Linked DNA regions of Homo sapiens: all the other regions are linked to region 1. The links are contacts of gene promoters, found by promoter capture Hi-C in blood cells and fetal thymus (Javierre and others, 2016). All regions are on one chromosome and are shown on one strand. The core of a region is centred on a gene start or on the middle of the fragment in contact, and the rest is flanking DNA. Distances in the headings are between cores, read along the strand shown.

What was found. Contacts are between HindIII fragments. The CHiCAGO score rates a contact against its expected background, and 5 or more counts as called.
Region 2: the fragment with the promoter of NUP98 here is called in contact with the fragment with the promoter of NAP1L4 in region 1 in 1 of 17 cell types (activated CD4 T cells); the score reaches 5.1 in activated CD4 T cells.
Region 3: a fragment that was not itself captured here is called in contact with the fragment with the promoter of NAP1L4 in region 1 in 1 of 17 cell types (neutrophils); the score reaches 5.7 in neutrophils.
Region 4: a fragment that was not itself captured here is called in contact with the fragment with the promoter of NAP1L4 in region 1 in 1 of 17 cell types (monocytes); the score reaches 5.2 in monocytes.
Region 5: the fragment with the promoter of KCNQ1 here is called in contact with the fragment with the promoter of NAP1L4 in region 1 in 3 of 17 cell types (activated CD4 T cells, neutrophils and non-activated CD4 T cells); the score reaches 7.7 in activated CD4 T cells.

The regions. Positions count from the first base shown.
Region 1 is chr11:2,990,466-2,994,063 of GRCh38, forward strand. NAP1L4 (nucleosome assembly protein 1 like 4) reads right to left here and starts at 1,864. Exons shown (of 16, transcript NM_005969.4): 1 at 1,789-1,864. RefSeq lists enhancers at 433-1,289, 1,834-2,128. The HindIII fragment of the contact is 4,981 bases long and covers 223-3,598 here.
Region 2 is chr11:3,795,921-3,799,518 of GRCh38, forward strand. It overlaps NUP98 (nucleoporin 98 and 96 precursor), which reads right to left and starts at 1,634. Exons shown (of 33, transcript NM_016320.5): 1 at 1,480-1,634. It also overlaps a transcript of PGAP2 not described here. RefSeq lists silencers at 1,311-1,400, 1,481-1,650. The HindIII fragment of the contact is 2,489 bases long and covers 602-3,090 here.
Region 3 is chr11:2,265,172-2,268,769 of GRCh38, forward strand. ASCL2 (achaete-scute family bHLH transcription factor 2) reads right to left here. Exons shown (of 2, transcript NM_005170.3): 2 at 3,327-3,598. Among named protein-coding and RNA genes, the nearest start is that of ASCL2, 3.6 kb to the right of the region's middle. The HindIII fragment of the contact is 1,647 bases long and covers 1,092-2,738 here.
Region 4 is chr11:2,290,595-2,294,192 of GRCh38, forward strand. No RefSeq gene overlaps it. Among named protein-coding and RNA genes, the nearest start is that of C11orf21, 9.5 kb to the right of the region's middle. The HindIII fragment of the contact is 7,512 bases long and covers 1-3,598 here.
Region 5 is chr11:2,443,032-2,446,629 of GRCh38, forward strand. KCNQ1 (potassium voltage-gated channel subfamily Q member 1) reads left to right here and starts at 1,977. Exons shown (of 16, transcript NM_000218.3): 1 at 1,977-2,453. The coding sequence starts at 2,068. TRPM5 (transient receptor potential cation channel subfamily M member 5) reads right to left here and starts at 1,483. Exons shown (of 29, transcript NM_014555.4): 1 at 1,400-1,483. RefSeq lists silencers at 1,777-1,886, 1,897-1,966. The HindIII fragment of the contact is 13,739 bases long and covers 1-3,598 here.

The DNA.
Region 1 (3,598 bases), core at 614-3,113:
GCTCATCCCAGTCTGAATCTCAAAATTCTACTATAGGAGGCATTTGGCATTCTGTGGAATAAGAGAATTTTGAGATGGAAATGATCAACCAGCTCAAAACCTCGTAAGCTAGAGTTCAGTTAAGCTTAGCACAATGATGAAAACAATTTCTCATTAAAACTTCTTTCATTCCCTCTACAGAAGCAGTAACCCTGGGTACAGTTAAAACTGCCTGGGTCTTTAAGCTTTGTCACCTCGGACAAGTCATTATACCTAACCTCCCAGGGCCTCAGCTTCCAGAGTAGTTAAATGGAAAAACAATAGCATCTATCTCAGGTTATTAGATTATGAAATGAGTTAACACACGCAAACAGGCTGAAAGAGTCCCTGGTGCGCAGTGCAGGTATTAGTCATTTAGAGGTATAGTTACTATTACAGGAAGGTAGTAACTTAGAAAGACTTACCTTTAAGGTCCAACAACCTAATCTACATATTTGTATATTTCTAAGGTAAGAGAATTTTTAAAAGTCTATTTTCACCCCGTAAACCTAATGCAGGAGGATAAGGCACGGGTTACTACAGGAAAAAGTAATGCAGACTGGGGGATGCGAACCAAAGCACAGACGAATGTGCCCCGACGATTCCTCCGAGAACATAATGAAATGGCGGACCTTCCTGCCAGAGGAGCGCACAGTCACCCAGGCAGGTGATGTGACACACACGTTAGGGTCTAAAGGTCCCAAGGCTGGAGTCCCCTTTACTGGACCCTAAACATGTCTGCCTCCTGCCCCGCAATCAGACTTAGAGAACTGTGGACGGTGGAAAGTCTTATCATGACCAGGCCATCCTTCGCTGGGGTGAACGGAAAGCATTCAGAAGGGGAAAATTGAAAACAACAAAGACTCTGGTCAGGTCAAAAAATACAAATGTGACCTCTTCCACCATCTCTGAACTGAAAGAAAAGCATGGCACTTTCCCATCCATAACATGTACAATTTTTTTTTTTGGAGATTTTGCTTTTCCCTTGTGAAAGACGGTTTTAAATAGTAAACAGACTTGCTGCCCACCTTGGCTGGGAAACCAAGTCCCGTGAGTAACTAGTCTAAGGCCACTCAGGCCAGTCCTCGGGGAGCGCACGCCGCCCAGCTCGCTCCCACCGCACAGCTCCCAACAGCTAAGAAGCAACGCCAAGGACTTTCTTCCCCGTCAGACATGCCCTCGGCCACACCAAACTGACATCAAAACCCCAGTTAGCCCAGCCTGACCCCACAGAGGCTCACGATGACAACCGCCCTACGGAAAAACTCAAATTCCTAAACATCTAATAAAGAAGTCCTGGACGTCTCCACCTTAAAAACGGGAAGCCTGAACGCTCCGGCGCGCCCGGCCGTGTAACCGCCACAGCCCCCGCACGCGGGGCGGGCTGGGCTAGCGGGAGATTTGAGCGGCCGCCGCCTCTCGCCGTCTTCGCCTCCTCCAAGGGGCCGCCGCCCAGGAGGCCGCCCGCGGCGCAGAACAAAGCGCCTTGACCTTCAGTGAGGCGGGCAGCCGGGCGAGGCGCGCCGGGAGTTGGGAGGGGCCTCCCGCCAGCGCCCCAGGCCCGGGCTCCAGGCCCCAAGCCCCAGGCCCCGCCGCGGCCGCCGCTGCCTGCCCCGACCAGAACGCGGCCCCGCCCCTGCCCCACCGCCCCGAGGCTTCCAGAGATGGCCGCCGCCGCGCCCGCGCCGGACCCGCGGCCCCACCCGCCCGTCCGGGCCCGGCCGCCCTCCCCAGCGCGCCGTTACCGGCCCAGCACCCGTGTCTCCGCACCTCACGCCTCCTGCGGCAGTGGCGGCGACCCTAGCTTCGCTCGCTTTGGGGCTGCGCCGCCGTGGCCTCCAACAACGCCGGCTCCCATTGGCCGAGGCTCCTAGCTCCTCTCTCCGCGAGCAAGACAGGCTGCGATTCGCCGAGCGCGGCGCAAGTCAACTGCGCTTCGCGCCGCAGTCAGCAACCAATCACAAGCCTCCGAAGAAACGCCGCGCCATATGCAAATATTCCTCCGCGCGGCGCGCGCCCTGCGTTCCTCCGCCTCTTTAAATGGGGCGGGGCAAGGTGGAGACCGCGTGTGTGGTTCCGGGGGGTCCCGGGTCCCCGCTCCCGGGACCTTCCCCGGGTGGCACCACATCCTCGCGGGACACTGGGCACCACCCCTCTCCGTGGGCCCCGGCCCCAGCCGTCTTTATCTCCTGCGCCCTCCCAGTTCCCTAGTTCAATCCCGTCCGCGGCGGGTCGGTGCCTCCAGCACTCCGTGCGCCCGCTGATGTGAGAACCCCACCTCCCATGTCGTCCCCTCGCGCTACTCCTTGAGAACATCGCGGAGGGCCCCTCCGCCTGGGAGCCGTTTTCAACCAGCCCCGTTAGTGGTTGGGACGTAAGCCTAACCCCCGCTCATCCCCCAGGTCCCAGGTTGGAGAACACTTCCTCTGCGAAGAGGTCGGGGCTGGGTCACCTCCGCGGACAGGACGGGACTAGCCACTGCCTGCATCTCTTCCCCCACGCCCTGAGCCCCGCAGTGTCCCAGCAGCCTAGTTCTGGCCTGCGGGAGACCCTGTCGGACAAGGAGGAAAAGCAGTGCGCACTGGGCCCTCAGATCAGCCCCCTGAAGCAGAGCAGGGCAGAGGGCTGGGGAGGAGCTGGCCTGTTTCGCCCGCCCTGTTCTCCCTCTCATGGTGCCCTCTGGGCTGGGGTGAAGGTACCAGCCCCAGCCTGTGCACATCACATTTTGTAGAAAGGCATCCAATTTGATTGGAAAATAACCCCTACGCTGGGACTTTTGAGGCTGGTTCATTTCCATGTTCAACCGTGCCATTGGGGGTCTTCAAGTCTAATGTGCATTTTTTTCAGAAACGTTCTCTTTTGGGATGACGTTACTTTTGAAACAATTGCTAATTATTATTATTATTAGCAAGTTATTCCTGTAATGGGGAAAATTTGAAACCATTTAAAGGCTCCTGGTTGAGGGATTAAGAACATAGCGTCGGTTATAAACCTCAGAGGTAAGCTGGGAGGCTGAGGCAGGAGGATTCCTTGAGCCCAGAAATTCAAGTCCAGCCTGGGCAACATAGTGAAACCTCATCTCTAAAAAGAAATTAATGCGGAGCGCCGTGGCTCAGGCCTGTAAACCCAGCACTCTGGGAGGCAGAGGCAACAAGTCCAGCCTGGGCAACATAGAGCACCCTTCCCCTGCTCCAAAAACAACAACAACAAAAAATTACCCAGGCGTGGTGGCTCAGGCCTGTAATACCAGCTACTTGGGAGGCTGAGGTGGGAGAATTACCTGAGCCCGTGAGGTCAAGGCTGCAGTGAGCAGAGATTGGGCCACTGCACTCCAGCCTGGGTAACCAGAGGGGGACATTGTCTCAAAAAGACAAAAAAAAGGCCGGGCGCGGTGGCTCAAGCCTGTAATCCCAGCACTTTGGGAGGCCGAGGTGGGCCGATCACGATGTCAGGAGATCGAGACCATCCTGGCTAACACGGTGAAACCCCGTCTCTACTAAAAATACAAAAAAATTAGCCGTGCATTGTGGCGGACGCCCTAGTCCCAGCTACTCGGGAGGCTGAGGCAGGAGAATGGCGT
Region 2 (3,598 bases), core at 384-2,883, 810 kb after region 1:
TGATGTGTACAGAACCAAGTGTCAACTAATTCAATTTCATCAAATCTGAAGAGTCAAAAAGAATAATTTTACCCAAGTATTTCCCAGTACCTTTATCCTGTCCAACCTCTAGTTTTGGTTTTTAAATACCCTAACTTCCTCCACCAGGTAAACATACTGTAACCCAGTTAACTCGAGTTTCTTTTCGAATTTGTAAGACCGTCACAGGGAATGATCACTGCTCTCTTTTTGCTCTTTATTCCAGTTAGCTTCTTCCTCCAAAACGGAGTTTTATTTCCTCACCTTATTCTACTATAATACTTCACTTTGAATTCTGTACCTGAAAGGAGCCATGAGTTCCGAGGTACAACTACTACAAACGGACTCCTACCTGGCTTTCTAAGTCTTATCAATATTTCCTGCTTTCTATTCCAGTACTGTTATAAATCCCTAACTGACTCCGAGTCCTCATCAGCTGACACAAGTCAAAAAATTCAGATTTAGAAAGGGAAACAATGGCTTGTAGTTTTACCGATTTGTTTCCGATACATAACAACGCTGACGTTCTTTAACCATCTTCTAAGTTTAGTTCTCAAGCTCTAGGTTAGGGTACCACTAACGAAGCTTCCACCTTACCCGTGAACAGAGCTGGTAGCAACTAAACGGAAAACGCTGTGAAGACTACATCTACGTTTAGCTACCTAATGTCCATGCCGCACCGACCTCCTAAAGGGAATTCTTAATAATGGGAGACTGAAATATCCAGGGAGGGTGAGGTAGTAGAAAACTGTTTAGACTGTCAAAAATCTGGCATTGGCTAATCCTGCCTGTTACTCCGGGCCTCGGTTTCCCCATCTACAAAACTGATGTAAGGTAGGGGGATTGACTTAAACAATTTCTAAAGTCCTTATGGCTATAGTAATCCAGAAACTCAATCTGTCTCCTCATCTGGCTTTACACTGAACACGTGGGAAAATAGAAAAGAACCTTTTGCTCCACCGAACCGACTCCTATTCTCAGATATTATCTTAAAAATCTCCCAAACTTCGGACTCACCCTAATCCTCGGGGTGCCCACTTCCCTTATGGAGAAGCCAAGGCAAATAAAGCCCAGTCCCACATGACGGTCAAGGAAGTGCGGGGCAGACCGTATTCAGGGTTTCAAGGCGCTGACCCCGGAAAGGCCAGCCCACCGTGGGGTCCTTACACCACTGAATGAATGAGTACAACCAGACAGACACCCACTCGCGTGGGCAGCAACTGGAGACCTCCAGGCCTAGACCCCACTGATGTCCATTCTCTCCCAGGGCCTCCAAAGCCGGGCCTCCCGGGCTCCGGGCCCCCGGGTCCTCAGCACCGCCCCTCTCTCAGGCCAGAAGGTGCGCGCAGCGGCGCTAGACTTCGAAGCGGAGAGGCCCTGAGACGCCCCGCGCGTCCGCCCGCCCGGAAGGGGGGAGAAACCTGCCGGTCTCGGCCGCTGCAGCTCGGGCTCCCGACTTACCGCGGTTCGGTGGGGAAGGGGAAGTGTCAGGAGTCCCCTGCTGCCACCCGCCGCTCACAGAGCAGCGCGCGGCCCCCACGAAACCGTCGCCGCCGCCGCTACCACCCCTGCCACCGACCGCCGCTTCGGGCGCAGCGCGCAGAGGGCCCGACTGCGTCACACGCCGCCCGGCGTCAGAGGCTCGTTGCGGACGCTCCGCCCTCGCCGTCCGCGAATTGGTGGACGCGGCCGCCACTCTGGGTCGACCCTGTTATTCATTGGGCAACGCGTCTTTTGAAACCGAACTGAAGGGGGAAGGGGCGAGAGGGAAGAGGAGGGGCAGAAGGAGTTCGGGGAGGCACAGGGTAGGAGCGGTGAGAGGGCCGTGGAGTCCCGCCCCTCGCCGCCGCGGTTGGCGGGAGCGTGTCGTGACGTCACACAGGGCCTCTCGAAGTGGGCTTGTGAATGGCTAGATTGGGAAGCACCGGCGGGGTGTCGGGAAGGGTGGTGACGCAACATAGAGACTCCGCCCCCTTCCTTGGAGCGCCGCGACTCGGGCTGAGGGAGCTCGGGCCAATCAGAGGGACGGCCCCAGAATGGCATGGTAACTATTCGACCCTTTCCTTGCCCCGGTCCGCCGGCGCTGCTGGGAAGGCTTCCTAGTCTCTCTGCCCGCACTTCCCGCCCAGACCACGTGCGGAGCCTGAGGGCCCTCTTGGAAGGTCTGTCTGTCCAAAGAGTTTGCCCGAGGCTTCTTCAGGGCCCTAAATCCTGACCCTATTCTCTCCTGACCCATGCTCGCCCCAGCACTTTCTTTCCCTCCCTGAATTTCTAGGATGGACATTAGGAGCATTAGAGATGCCCTAAGGGACTGGCCCACCAAAGGGCCTGGTACAAATGAGGATTGTTGGAACGTCTTTCCCAGCTGCACGTGGAGAACCCCTAATTCTTTTTTTTTCTTTTTCTTTTGAGATGAAGTCTCGCGTTGTCGCCTAGGGTGGAGTGCATTGGCGCAATCTCGGCTCACTGCAACCTCTGCCTCCCGGGTTCAAGCGATTCTCCCGCCTTAGCCTCCCAAGTAGCTGGGATTACAGGCGTCCGCCACCAGGCCCAGCTAATTTTTGTATTTATAGTAGAGACGGGGATTTCACTGTGTTGGTCAGGCTGGTCTCGAACTCCTGATCTCAAGTGATCCACCCGCCTCGGCCTCCCAAAGTGCTGGGATTACAGACGTGAGCCACCTCGCCCATGAACTAATTTTTTTTTTTTTTTTTGAGATGGAGTCTTGCTCTGTCTCCTCTTTCTCCCAGGCTGGAGTGCAGTGGCACGATCTCGGCTCACTGCAATCTCCGCCTCCCAGGTACAAGAGAGTCTCCTGTCGTAGCCTCCCGAGTAGCTGGGATTACAGGCACTCGCCGCCGCGCCCAGCTGATTTTGTATTTTTAGTAGAGATGGGGTTTCACCATGTTGGCCAGGCTGGTCTCGAACTCCGGAACTCAGGTGATCCGCCCGCCTCGGCCTCCCACAGTGCTGGCCTTACAGGCGTGAGCCACCGCGCCCAGCCGAACCCCTACTTATTCTTAAAGGACGGGTATTTCAAATGTTCCCATCTTCTCAGTGATACATTTGCCAAGCTTTCACAGCGAGTTGAGCTAATGCTTGGGCAGGCCTCTGTTAAAGCCTTGTCACTTTGTATCCTATTATTTACCCTCGGTTTTCTGTGCCTTGGGCTCTTCTTGGAAGTCCTTCTGGGGCCTAGCCCATTAGCAGAAAACTGATATTACAAGAGTGAAAGGTGGGCATTTTCTAGAAACTAGACCTGTTTAGTGACTGAGAGTCTCATAGCAGGAACTGTGCGCAGAAAGCAAAGCGTATACTGGCCGGGCTGGTGGCTCATGCCTGTAATCCCAGCACTTTGGGATGCTGAGGCGGGCAGATTATTTGAGGCCAGGAGTTCGAGACCAGCCTGGCCAACATGATGAAACCCTGTCTCTACTAAGAATACAAAAATTGGTCAAGCATGGTGGTGGGCACCTATAATCCCAGCTGCTTCTCGGTTTGCTGAGGCACGAGAATGGCTTGAACCAGGGAGGCGGAGATTACAGTGAGTGGAGATCCTGCCACTGCGCTCCAGAGTGAT
Region 3 (3,598 bases), core at 665-3,164, 730 kb before region 1:
ATTTTAAACTGGCATCACATAATATAAAGATGGATAACTACATTCACGCTAGTCACTTAAATTCCTAATCTTTCTTACTCAGAATGGCATTAAATAGTGAGTATAAAATAAGAAGTATAAAATAGTAAGTCAAGAGGTTGACTATAGAAGAAAGAAAAATGCTTTATATTTTAGCACCTTGAACATGACATCACGATCACCTTCTCCCTGGAATCAGTTTCTAACTTCCAGGTGGGGACTAGGCCTGGACCATGAGCTCCTAGCAGAGCCCTGCTGCCCCCACAGCAGAGCCCAGGACAGGCTGGCACCTGGGCCAGGTGAGGCTCTGTCCAGGCTCACTGATCTCAAATGCTGAACTGCTAAGGATGTCATGTCCCCAAAGGAGCCGCCAGGCTCAGCCTCACTTCCTGGAAGGCGTGAACATTGCAAGAATGTGGAAGTGAAAGAGTCCAGGGCTTAAATCTCAATTCTCATCATTTTCAAGCTGAGTCCAAGGGAGAGAAGACAGTCATGGATTCTTAGTTTCTGTTTCTGGTTGAGCCAGCAGGGTCCCTTCCTCATCCCTCTTTTCTGCTTATCACTAGAGACAGAAACTAAAACCATGACTTTAGGCTGCTGAGAGCCTAAAACAAAACGACAGCAAGAGAAGGTGGGTTGGACCAGCTTGCCTGTGACTTCAGGCACTTCATCTTTACTGGGCACTGGGTGAATGACAGTGTGGGGAGGGGTCTTCATAACACGGCAATCAGCAGCCCACTGTGCCCAGGAGACTCGCCTGTGGTCCTGGTTATCAACCACAGCCCTTTCCAGTCTCAAAAATGTCCCCGCTGGGACAGCAAGTTACATCGTCGCTACAAGTCCTGTCTCCTGGGAGATGCAGTCCAGCAGCACTACATCCTCTGAGCAGCAGGTGCCAAGTGGGATGAACTGGATAAGGACTGCATTCGGGGAAACGCCCGTGTGAAAGGAAATACACAGGAAGGAGGTGGCAACGGGTGGGAAGCCACTAGACCACGACGCGATTCTGCCCCAGTGAAGGCGAGGGGATAGCCTGGGCCTAGATCGCTGTGAGGTCTATGGAAGTTTCCACAAGCTTGCTGGGTAGTTCTCGAGGCAAACTCGGAAAGGGAGTCCCTTGTCTCCCTGGAACGGATCTTTCTTGGCATCTCTGTCACACTCATTAGGTGGGCCTGGTGTCAACCCCATTTGCAGGCCACCCCAAACTTGATCAAAGGTCCGCTTCTGGCACCCCATACCCTGTCCTACAGGAAATACAGGGACAGGCTCCCAATAACAACACCCAGCACGGTGCCATCAACACCACCACGCACACGGGGGCTCAACGGAACAGACATCTCCGCTTCTTCAATGAAGACACTGGAGGGAAATTGCTTACAAGGCGCTTAAGAGACCTATTAAGCAAACTTGATGTGTGGACCTGCGGCGGATCCCGATTCTATAAGGCCAACTGCACAAAACCACGAGACCCCCTGAGGACTGCGCCATTGGCTGGGTCCCCGATGATATGAAAGAACGGTGGTTCATTTGAGCGGGTGATGTTTTTGCGGTTTCCTTTAGAGGCACACGTGAAACATGACGGGTGAAAGGATTCAAAGTCTGGGATTTGCTTCAAAGCAACGCAGGGATGGCGTGGGGGATGGATGGGGCAGGAAGGGCCTTGAAACTGGTGCTGGAGGCTTCCCAGGGCTGCCCTGGAGCCCAGTGCGTCCTCCACCGGCCAGACTGTACAACGGTTGGATCCTGTGTCCACTGCTAGGACCCAGGCTCCACGAGCACGGGCTTGTGTGGCACACGGATGCACCCTAAGTCCTGGCACAGAGACTGCTCAACAAAGGCCTCGGTGCTTTTGTGTATGTTTGAAATTTTCCATAATAAAATGAAAAATGGGAAAATGGGAAAACAAAAATGGCAGCACTACTTACCCTCTGCAGAGTTTTGTCCGCTTCACGCCAGTGGGTGGCAGTCGTTTCCTCTGCCCTGGCCTTCCATCGTTTCCCCCCTACCCTCTTCACCCACCCAACAGCCCCCTGTGGTCCTGGCAGCTGTGGGCCTTTCCTTGAGGTCAAGGTGTGGAGTCCTGGGGAGGGCTCAGGGAGGCCACCGACCCGGGTGTGGATTCTGGGAGAAGCCTGTGGGATGTCCCTCCCTGGGTGACCACGGCAATGTGCCCCCTCCTGTCCCTTGGCCAAGGCCAGTTCCCTGAGCCCTGCAGCCCCAAGCCACAGCTGGTCCACTGACCCCAGTTGAGCCTGGTCCTCATCAGACCAGCTGACCCCTTTGACCCCCGCTACAGACTCGGCTTTGACCTTGGCTGCTGAGGAGCCCCCACCTGGACTGAGGCTGCAGCTGGCGAGAGAGGAGCCCTGAGCTCCTCTGATAAGAAGGGACCTGGCCAGCCTGACGTTTGAGACCCAGGCATCCCGGTAGCCTGGGTGTCCTGTTGCCGTGGTTATTCAGGAGCCACCCACTCTGGGACAACACCAGCTGCTCCCACCTCGCAGGGCTCCCACGGCTCTGTCCCAACCACTCCTTTCTGAAGGAAGGGGTGCCTCTGCGCCCTAAAGAAACCGGGGGAGCCCCACAACCCCTCCCCCACCAGGACACTAAAAGGCAGCTTTCGGTACAGTGAGACATCAAAGCCTCCTAGGCCCTGAGTCAAAGGTATAGCCGTGTAATATCCCAGTGCCAGCTCTCCGGCTGCGGGGAGCCTGGCGCAAAGCTTCCAAGCCTTCCTTGTTCCTTTCAAGAGCCGCTCTTAGAATTCAGGTGAGCGGAGACCTGCAGGGCCTCCCCAGTGCGGGCAAAACCCAAAGCTAGCGAGAGGGCAGCCTCCAGGCACCTCTCACTAACTCCTCCCAGAGGCCGTTGAGGTGGGTCTGGTCAAACCCATTTGCAAGTTAACCCACTTGCCCTGGGCTGCCCAGCTGCCACGTTAGTGGAGATCTGAGCGTGGTGGCCTGCGCAGGAGCCCATGCCCTCAGCCCCACAGCCGGTGCTCTCTGGTCAGACCACCTCAGCCTAGCCCCACACCCAGCACTTACCCCAGCCCTCGGGATGGGTCAGCAGCCTCCAGCCTGCAGCTTCCAAGCCAGCGAGTAGCCCTGTCTGGACAACCCACCAGCCCACCACCTCCTGGAGGATGCCCCCAGCCTCACAAGGTGTCCCAATGGCTCCGCTATCAACGGCCTGGCTGCACTCCAGATCTCACCCAGACCCACCCTACGGAGGAGGCAGCAGGGTTTGAGGAGTAGTGACCACGGAAGTCTGGCCGTCACCTGGGAAGTGTAGGTGATAGGAGCCACTGGTAAACAGAACTGATTTATTTATAAAGTTCACGCTCCCTTGAAGAGGTGTGCCCCACACAGGCTTCTCCCTAGCAGAGCAGCAGTGCCCACAAACCCACCCCAGGGTGGGCTGTCACGGGGGCCTCACGCCAGGGACCCCGCCCCTCAGGGACTGCTCGTGTCCAGATCTTGGCCAGCATGGAAAACTCCAGATAGTGGGGGCAGGGGTCCAGGTCATCTTTATTACGCCCCAGGTCAAGGGTTCTTTGTACAAAAATAGGTCTCCGTTTGCC
Region 4 (3,598 bases), core at 321-2,820, 700 kb before region 1:
GAATCCAGGATGCCACTTCCTCCTGCCTGGCAGCAGGGCAGGCAGCTGGCTGGGGCCCAGACTCCCAGGAGGATGCCACTGCTGCCCAGACCTACTGCAGTGCACAGCAGAGCGGCAAGGGCCCCTGGTGCGTTGAGCAAACTTCCAGGCTTAAAAAGAGCGTGGCTGCCTCATCCCTCCACCACCCAGAGCTGGCTCAGGCCACGTGTGACCCACCCTACCCTTAACAAGGCAGCTCCGGGAGTCCTGGAAGATGAACATCCCGCTCAGCTAGGGCGACACTGTGCCAATCCCTCCCATGGGCTTCCACCTGTACCTCTTGTTTTCTACACAGCTTTATTGAAATATAATTCACATACTATAAAATTCACTGTTTTAACTGTACCATTCAGGGGCTTTTAGTATATTCACAGAAGCATGCCTCCCTCAGCACCCCCAAAAACAACTCCCCGCTTTAGTATATTCGCAGAGGCGTGCCACCCGCAGCACCCCCAAAAACAACTCCCCACTTTATTCGCAGAGGCGTGCCTCCCGCAGCACCCCCAAAAACAACTCCCCGCTTTAGTATATTCGCAGAGGTGTGCCTCCCGCAGCACCCCCAAAAACAACTCCCCGCTTTAGTATATTCGCAGAGGTGTGCCTCCCGCAGCACCCCCAAAAACAATTCCCCGCTTTATTCACAGAGGCATGCCACCCGCAGCACCCCCAAAAACAACTCCCCGCTTTAGTATATTCAGAGGCGTGCCACCCGCAGCACCCCCAAAAACAACTCCCTGCTTCAGTATATTCACAGAGGCGTGCCTCCCGCAGCACCCCCAAAAACAACTCCCTGCTTTAGTATATTCAGAGGCGTGCCTCCCTCAGCACCCCCAAAAACAACTCCCCGCTTTAGTATATTCACAGAGGCGTGCCACCCGCAGCACCCCCAAAAACAACTCCCCGCTTCAGTATATTCACAGAGGCGTGCCACCCGCAGCACCCCCAAAAACAACTCCCCGCTTTATTCACAGAGGCGTGCCACCCGCAGCACCCCCAAAAACAACTCCCCACTTTATTCGCAGAGGTGTGCCTCCCGCAGCACCCCCAAAAACAACTCCCCGCTTTATTCACAGAGGCGTGCCACCCGCAGCACCCCCAAAAACAACTCCCCGCTTTAGTATATTCAGAGGCGTGCCACCCGCAGCACCCCCAAAAACAACTCCCCGCTTTAGTATATTCAGAGGCGTGCCACCCGCAGCACCCCCAAAAACAACTCCCTGCTTCAGTATATTCACAGAGGCGTGCCTCCCGCAGCACCCCCAAAAACAACTCCCTGCTTTAGTATATTCAGAGGCGTGCCTCCCTCAGCACCCCCAAAAACAACTCCCCGCTTTAGTATATTCACAGAGGCGTGCCACCCGCAGCACCCCCAAAAACAACTCCCCGCTTCAGTATATTCACAGAGGCGTGCCACCCGCAGCACCCCCAAAAACAACTCCCCGCTTTATTCACAGAGGCGTGCCACCCGCAGCACCCCCAAAAACAACTCCCCACTTTATTCGCAGAGGCGTGCCTCCCTCAGCACCCCCAAAAACAACTCCCCGCTTTAGTATATTCACAGAGGCGTGCCACCCGCAGCACCCCCAAAAACAACTCCCCGCTTTAGTATATTCAGAGGCGTGCCACCCGCAGCACCCCCAAAAACAACTCCCCGCTTTAGTATATTCAGAGGCGTGCCACCCGCAGCACCCCCAAAAACAACTCCCCGCTTTAGTATATTCGCAGAGGCGTGCCACCCGCAGCACCCCCAAAAACAACTCCCCGCTTTAGTATATTCAGAGGCGTGCCTCCCTCAGCACCCCCAAAAACAACTCCCCGCTTCAGTATATTCACAGAGGCGTGCCACCCGCAGCACCCCCAAAAACAACTCCCTACTTCAGTATATTCACAGAGGCGTGCCACCCGCAGCACCCCCAAAAACAACTCCCCGCTTTAGTATATTCACAGAGGCGTGCCTCCCTCAGCACCCCCAAAAACAACTCCCCGCTTTAGTATTTTCACAGAGGCGTGCCACCCGCAGCACCCCCAAAAACAACTCCCCACTCACTAGCAGCCGCTCCCCTTGCCCCAGCCTCTGCCAAACACTGACCCACTTCCCACCTCCATGGAGTTGCACGTTCTGGACATTTCATACAAATGGGGTCCTCTGATTCCCCACCCACAATTTTTAATCATACTTAACTTCCAAATAAAGACAAAGTCAAATCCCTCTTCCACCCAACAAGATGTGGCCAAGCGTATACAAGAGAACAGCATGTCCCCCTCTCCCCCAGAGAAGAGGAGAGCCCCTGATCCTGATTCATCTCTGGGTGTTCTTCCCCTTAAAAAAAAAAAAAAAAAATCAAAGGGGGAATAGGATTCAGCTGGAATGGGATTCAGCTGATTCTCATTCTCCCTTTGATATCCTAATTTTTTTTTTTTTTTTTTTTTTTTTTTTTTGAGACAGACTCTGTCAGCCAGGCTGGAGTGCAGTAGTGCAATCTCGGCTCACTGCAACCTCCACCTCCTGGGTTCAAGCAATTCTCCTGCCTCAGCCTCTCACATAGCTGGGATAACAGGCACGGGCCATCACGCCCGGCTAATTTTTGTATTTTTAGTAGAGACGGGGTTTCACCACATTGGCCAGGCTGGTCTCAAACTCCTGACCTCAGGTGATTCGCCTGCCTCAGCCTCCCAAAGTGCTAAGATTACATGCCTGAGCCACCGTGCCCAGCCTGATAGCCTAAAATTTAAACACTGAGATGTTTGAAATAATTAAATATCAACTACTATCAAACGTACACTTCATACACTAGTACCGTATGAAGTGGTAGGGAATGGAAGAGGAGAAGAAACAGTGGCTAATGTGGTCCTACCCAATACACTCGGATCAAAATAAGAAACACGCACACCTGTGATAGGCTTCGTTTCTGCAGCAGCCGAGCAGCGGGAACTAGCGTTTCAGCCTCCGTCTCCCGCATAGCCTTCGCCTCCGCAAGCACTCAGCTGATGTGGCTCTTTGCCTGGTGGGATGCCCTAAGCCTTCATTCCTGGAGAGCCTGGGTCCTGAATGACCCTGCTTGGATCAGGGGTGATGGTTTTCCATGATTTTAATCACAGGACATGGGAACCTTAAGAGGCGCTGCAGGGGACCCTCCGCATTCCAGACGTGCTCCTCCTCATCCTCCTTGTGCAACCCGGCCGATTCCGCCCGATAAAATCAGTCCCGTGGCCCGGGCAGTAACTGCCTTTTTTACCTATTGATTCTCTGCAGTGAGGATCCCAAAATGGCCTGGTGCAATCTCACCTTCCAGTCTGGTGGAGCCGTTGGTGTCTCTGCGGGAAACTCTCCTCCCTCGAGAACTCAGACTTCTACACCAAGAGGACCTAGAGTTGTGGGGACAGGGAGCAAACACATCACCAGCAGAATGTCATGAGGGTGAAGAGAAGCCATTGCCACTTCCCCTTCTGGACTCCCAGAACCGTGAGGTCTGGGCGGCAGGAGAAACCGCTCCATAGACTGACTCTAATTCAGAGCCTGGACCGCCTCCTGGAGGACACGGCCCTCTCTGCAAAGCGT
Region 5 (3,598 bases), core at 727-3,226, 550 kb before region 1:
GCTTCTATTTTAATTTTTCTTATTTTATCTGTTGCTTTTGGATTTCAAGTCATAGTTGGAAATGTTTTCCCGATTCACAGGTTCTTGAGGAATTGACCTGTACATTCTTGTAGAATTTGCATGGCTTCATCTCACCCTTTACACTTGAGCCTCTGATTCATTTGAGATTTATTCTCGTGTGCGGTGAGATGGACCCAAGGTATGCTTTTTCTTTCTTTATGACTGTCCAGTTGTCCAAACGCTGCTTATTCAAAGCTCACCTTCCTCCTGCTGAGGTGGGAGGGGAAGGCAGAGACTCCATGCAGGTGTATGTATGTTCACCCGGAAAGTAACTGCTGAATGCGTGCTGTGTGCCCTGCAGAGCTGACTGACTGCCCCCATCTTCTGACCCGCTGCCCTTCTGCACCTTCACTGATATGCTTCCCAGGAAGGTACCCTCTCCTCGGCCTCCCTTGTGTTATCACAGCGCCCAGCACAAGCTGGGACCCACTCCATCCACTCTTGCTGCAAATACAGACTGTGCACTCCTGTGTGGCACCTCACTAGGGTGGGGAGTCAGGCGTCAAGGGCCTGGGCTGGACTCCGTCCACGATAAAAGAGCAGACTTTTGGCAGGGGGTGGTAGATACATCAAATTGACCCAGGGTGCTCAGGGACGACCTGGAAGTGTCACATGAGTTATGGGTCTCCTGGCGGGGCGGAGAGTCACCGCTGAGCTCCACCTTTAGTCCCTGCCTCAGGGCTGTGTGCAGTATCCTGAAAAAAGCCGGTCTCTTCTGTTGGCTGCCCCCCACCCCCCCCCCAAGCCTGAGACGTGCTGAGACCCAAATGCCAGTAGCGGGCGGGAGGCAGTGCAGAGACCTGTGAAAATCTTCCGATGTGACCAACCCACCCCCACCCAGGGGAATCCACGGGGCGCAGCGGCAGCGCGGTCTCGACGGTGGGGAGGACAAGGCGCCCATTCTCCAAGTTACTAGGGTGGCGCAAGCGCCTCTCCCTTTAACTGCCCAGGCAGCCCCGCCTGCTATGCCCGGCAGTCAAACCAGGTCCAGACCCCGGCTGTGCCGCCCCCACCCCCCAGCAGCCCTGCCGGCTCCCCACCCACACAGCTCCCACTGGGAGGTACCTGACAGTGGTGGTCCCATCTCACCCTCCCGGTCCAAGGGCCCTGGTGGGAAGCGACCCGAGCGTATTCGCCGCCCGCAGCTCGCGCGCCTGGGCACCCGGGGGCGCTCACAGTGATCGCGGGGCCAGCACACCCTCACCCAGGACATCCCTTTCCTCCCCCCAACCCCAACTCCGGAGTGGCTCAGAGGGAGGGAAAGTAGATGCCGGCACCCTACCCCGCCCCTCCTGCCCCCGCTGTGCCGTTCTCGGTCGTGGTATCGGCCAGGCCTTACCCCTTCCTCCCTGGCGCAGCTGGGGTCCTCCTCCGGGCCAGGCAGAGCAGGCGGGCATCAGAAGTGGGGGCCAAGCAGGTGGGTGAGGGCAGGGCAGGAGCAAGCAGGGGAGATGCAGACGGGGCGGGGCCAAGCAGGTGGGTGAGGGCGGGGCCAAGCAGGTGGGCGGGGAGGGGGCGGGGCCAGGCGGGGTAAATGCACACTGGAACGGGGCCAAACAGGTGGGCGAGGAGGGGGCGGGGCCAAGCGGGATAGATGACACGAGCGGGGCTAAGCAGGTGGGCTCGGGCGGGGGTGGGGGTGGGGGCGGGGGCGCAGGCGGGGGCGGGGGCGCGGACAGGCCAAGCCAGGGGGTGAGGCGGAGGCAGGGCCAGGCCGGTCCGTGGGGAGAGGGCGGGCCAAGCCGGTGGGCGCGGGCAGGGACGCCCTGTGCGCGCCGGACCGGCGGGGGCGGGGCGTGCAGGCGGGGGCGGGGCACGCCGTCCCATGGGACCGGCCCTCGGCCACTGCCCCCTCCGGCCCCGCCCCGAGCGCCCGGGCTGGGCCGGCAGCGGCCCCCCGCGGCGGGGCTGGCAGCAGTGGCTGCCCGCACTGCGCCCGGGCGCTCGCCTTCGCTGCAGCTCCCGGTGCCGCCGCTCGGGCCGGCCCCCCGGCAGGCCCTCCTCGTTATGGCCGCGGCCTCCTCCCCGCCCAGGGCCGAGAGGAAGCGCTGGGGTTGGGGCCGCCTGCCAGGCGCCCGGCGGGGCAGCGCGGGCCTGGCCAAGAAGTGCCCCTTCTCGCTGGAGCTGGCGGAGGGCGGCCCGGCGGGCGGCGCGCTCTACGCGCCCATCGCGCCCGGCGCCCCAGGTCCCGCGCCCCCTGCGTCCCCGGCCGCGCCCGCCGCGCCCCCAGTTGCCTCCGACCTTGGCCCGCGGCCGCCGGTGAGCCTAGACCCGCGCGTCTCCATCTACAGCACGCGCCGCCCGGTGTTGGCGCGCACCCACGTCCAGGGCCGCGTCTACAACTTCCTCGAGCGTCCCACCGGCTGGAAATGCTTCGTTTACCACTTCGCCGTGTGAGTATCGCCACCGGCGACGGCCGGCACGAAGGTGCTTCCTGAGAGCTGGTGTGGGGGAGCTCTGTCCCAGCGCCACCTGCCCCGTCGGAGCTGCGACCCCGGAGCAGAGGAGGGAAGGAAGTGGGGAAACGCAGAAACACAAACTCTGCACTCTCCCTTGAAGTTCAGAGGCGCTGCTGTGTCTGGGGGTGCGCATCTTCTCGCAGGCCCGGCGTGGGGAGGGAGCCGGCTGGGGAGGGGACCACCTGGAGCCCAGAATTTGGCTCCACACCTCCGGGAGGGTAGTCCAGGTGTGAATCCTTCTGGGAAGAGAAGCGTGCTGGGGAGCGCACCCTTGGGTGCAGTAAGATAACTCCTCAAGGTCGGCTGAGACTCGAGGCTCAGGAGCCCCCAAGAGAGAAGGCCCCTGATGTCCGGTGCCGCATCTCAGACCCCCTGAGGCCCAGGTGGACTCTGGGGCAGGGGGCTGTCCAGGATAGGAAGGTGACGGTGGCGGTGCTCCCTGAGGGCTCAGCATGCCACGGGCCGTCCCCACGGGCCCCACATTAACTAATTGAACCAAGCTCATGAAAACCTGGCTTGATGCAGAGAGCGGAGAGGCACGTTTGCAGCTCTCACTAAGAGGCAGCTGTGCTCCCGGAGAAAGCAGCGCTGGTAGCAGAGGCACCTGGCCCCCCTGTTACCAGGTGGTTCCAATTCCCGGTACAGCGTGCCTGAGCAGGGCTGGGCACTGGATTTCTCAGGGACAGGCCTGGGAAGTCACCTCCGGGAAGGTCCAGGCTGCTCTCCTCCATGCCTGCCTGGGGCCTTCCCCCGCTGCCCCAGTGGCCCTACTTCCTGGCTGCCCAGCCAGCGGCCTTTTGGTGTGGTGCCAGCCTCTGGCCTGGGAGCCTCTACCCAGACATCCCATGGCTGATGGCTGTGGGGCTCACCTGAGGGCTGAAGGGTGGTCTCCCTGAGCGTCCTCAGGTGGAAGCATCTCCTCTGCCTCGGGCAGGCTCAGTAGAGAACTGGCTGGAGGGCATCCAGAGGCCTGTCCATGCCTGCTGGCAGCTGCCACCAGGGCCTCAGGGCGGGTGACAGCAGGAGCCAGGCCCCAAATGGCTTCAAGCATCGTCTCAGGTGAGGGGGTGGGGTAGGGG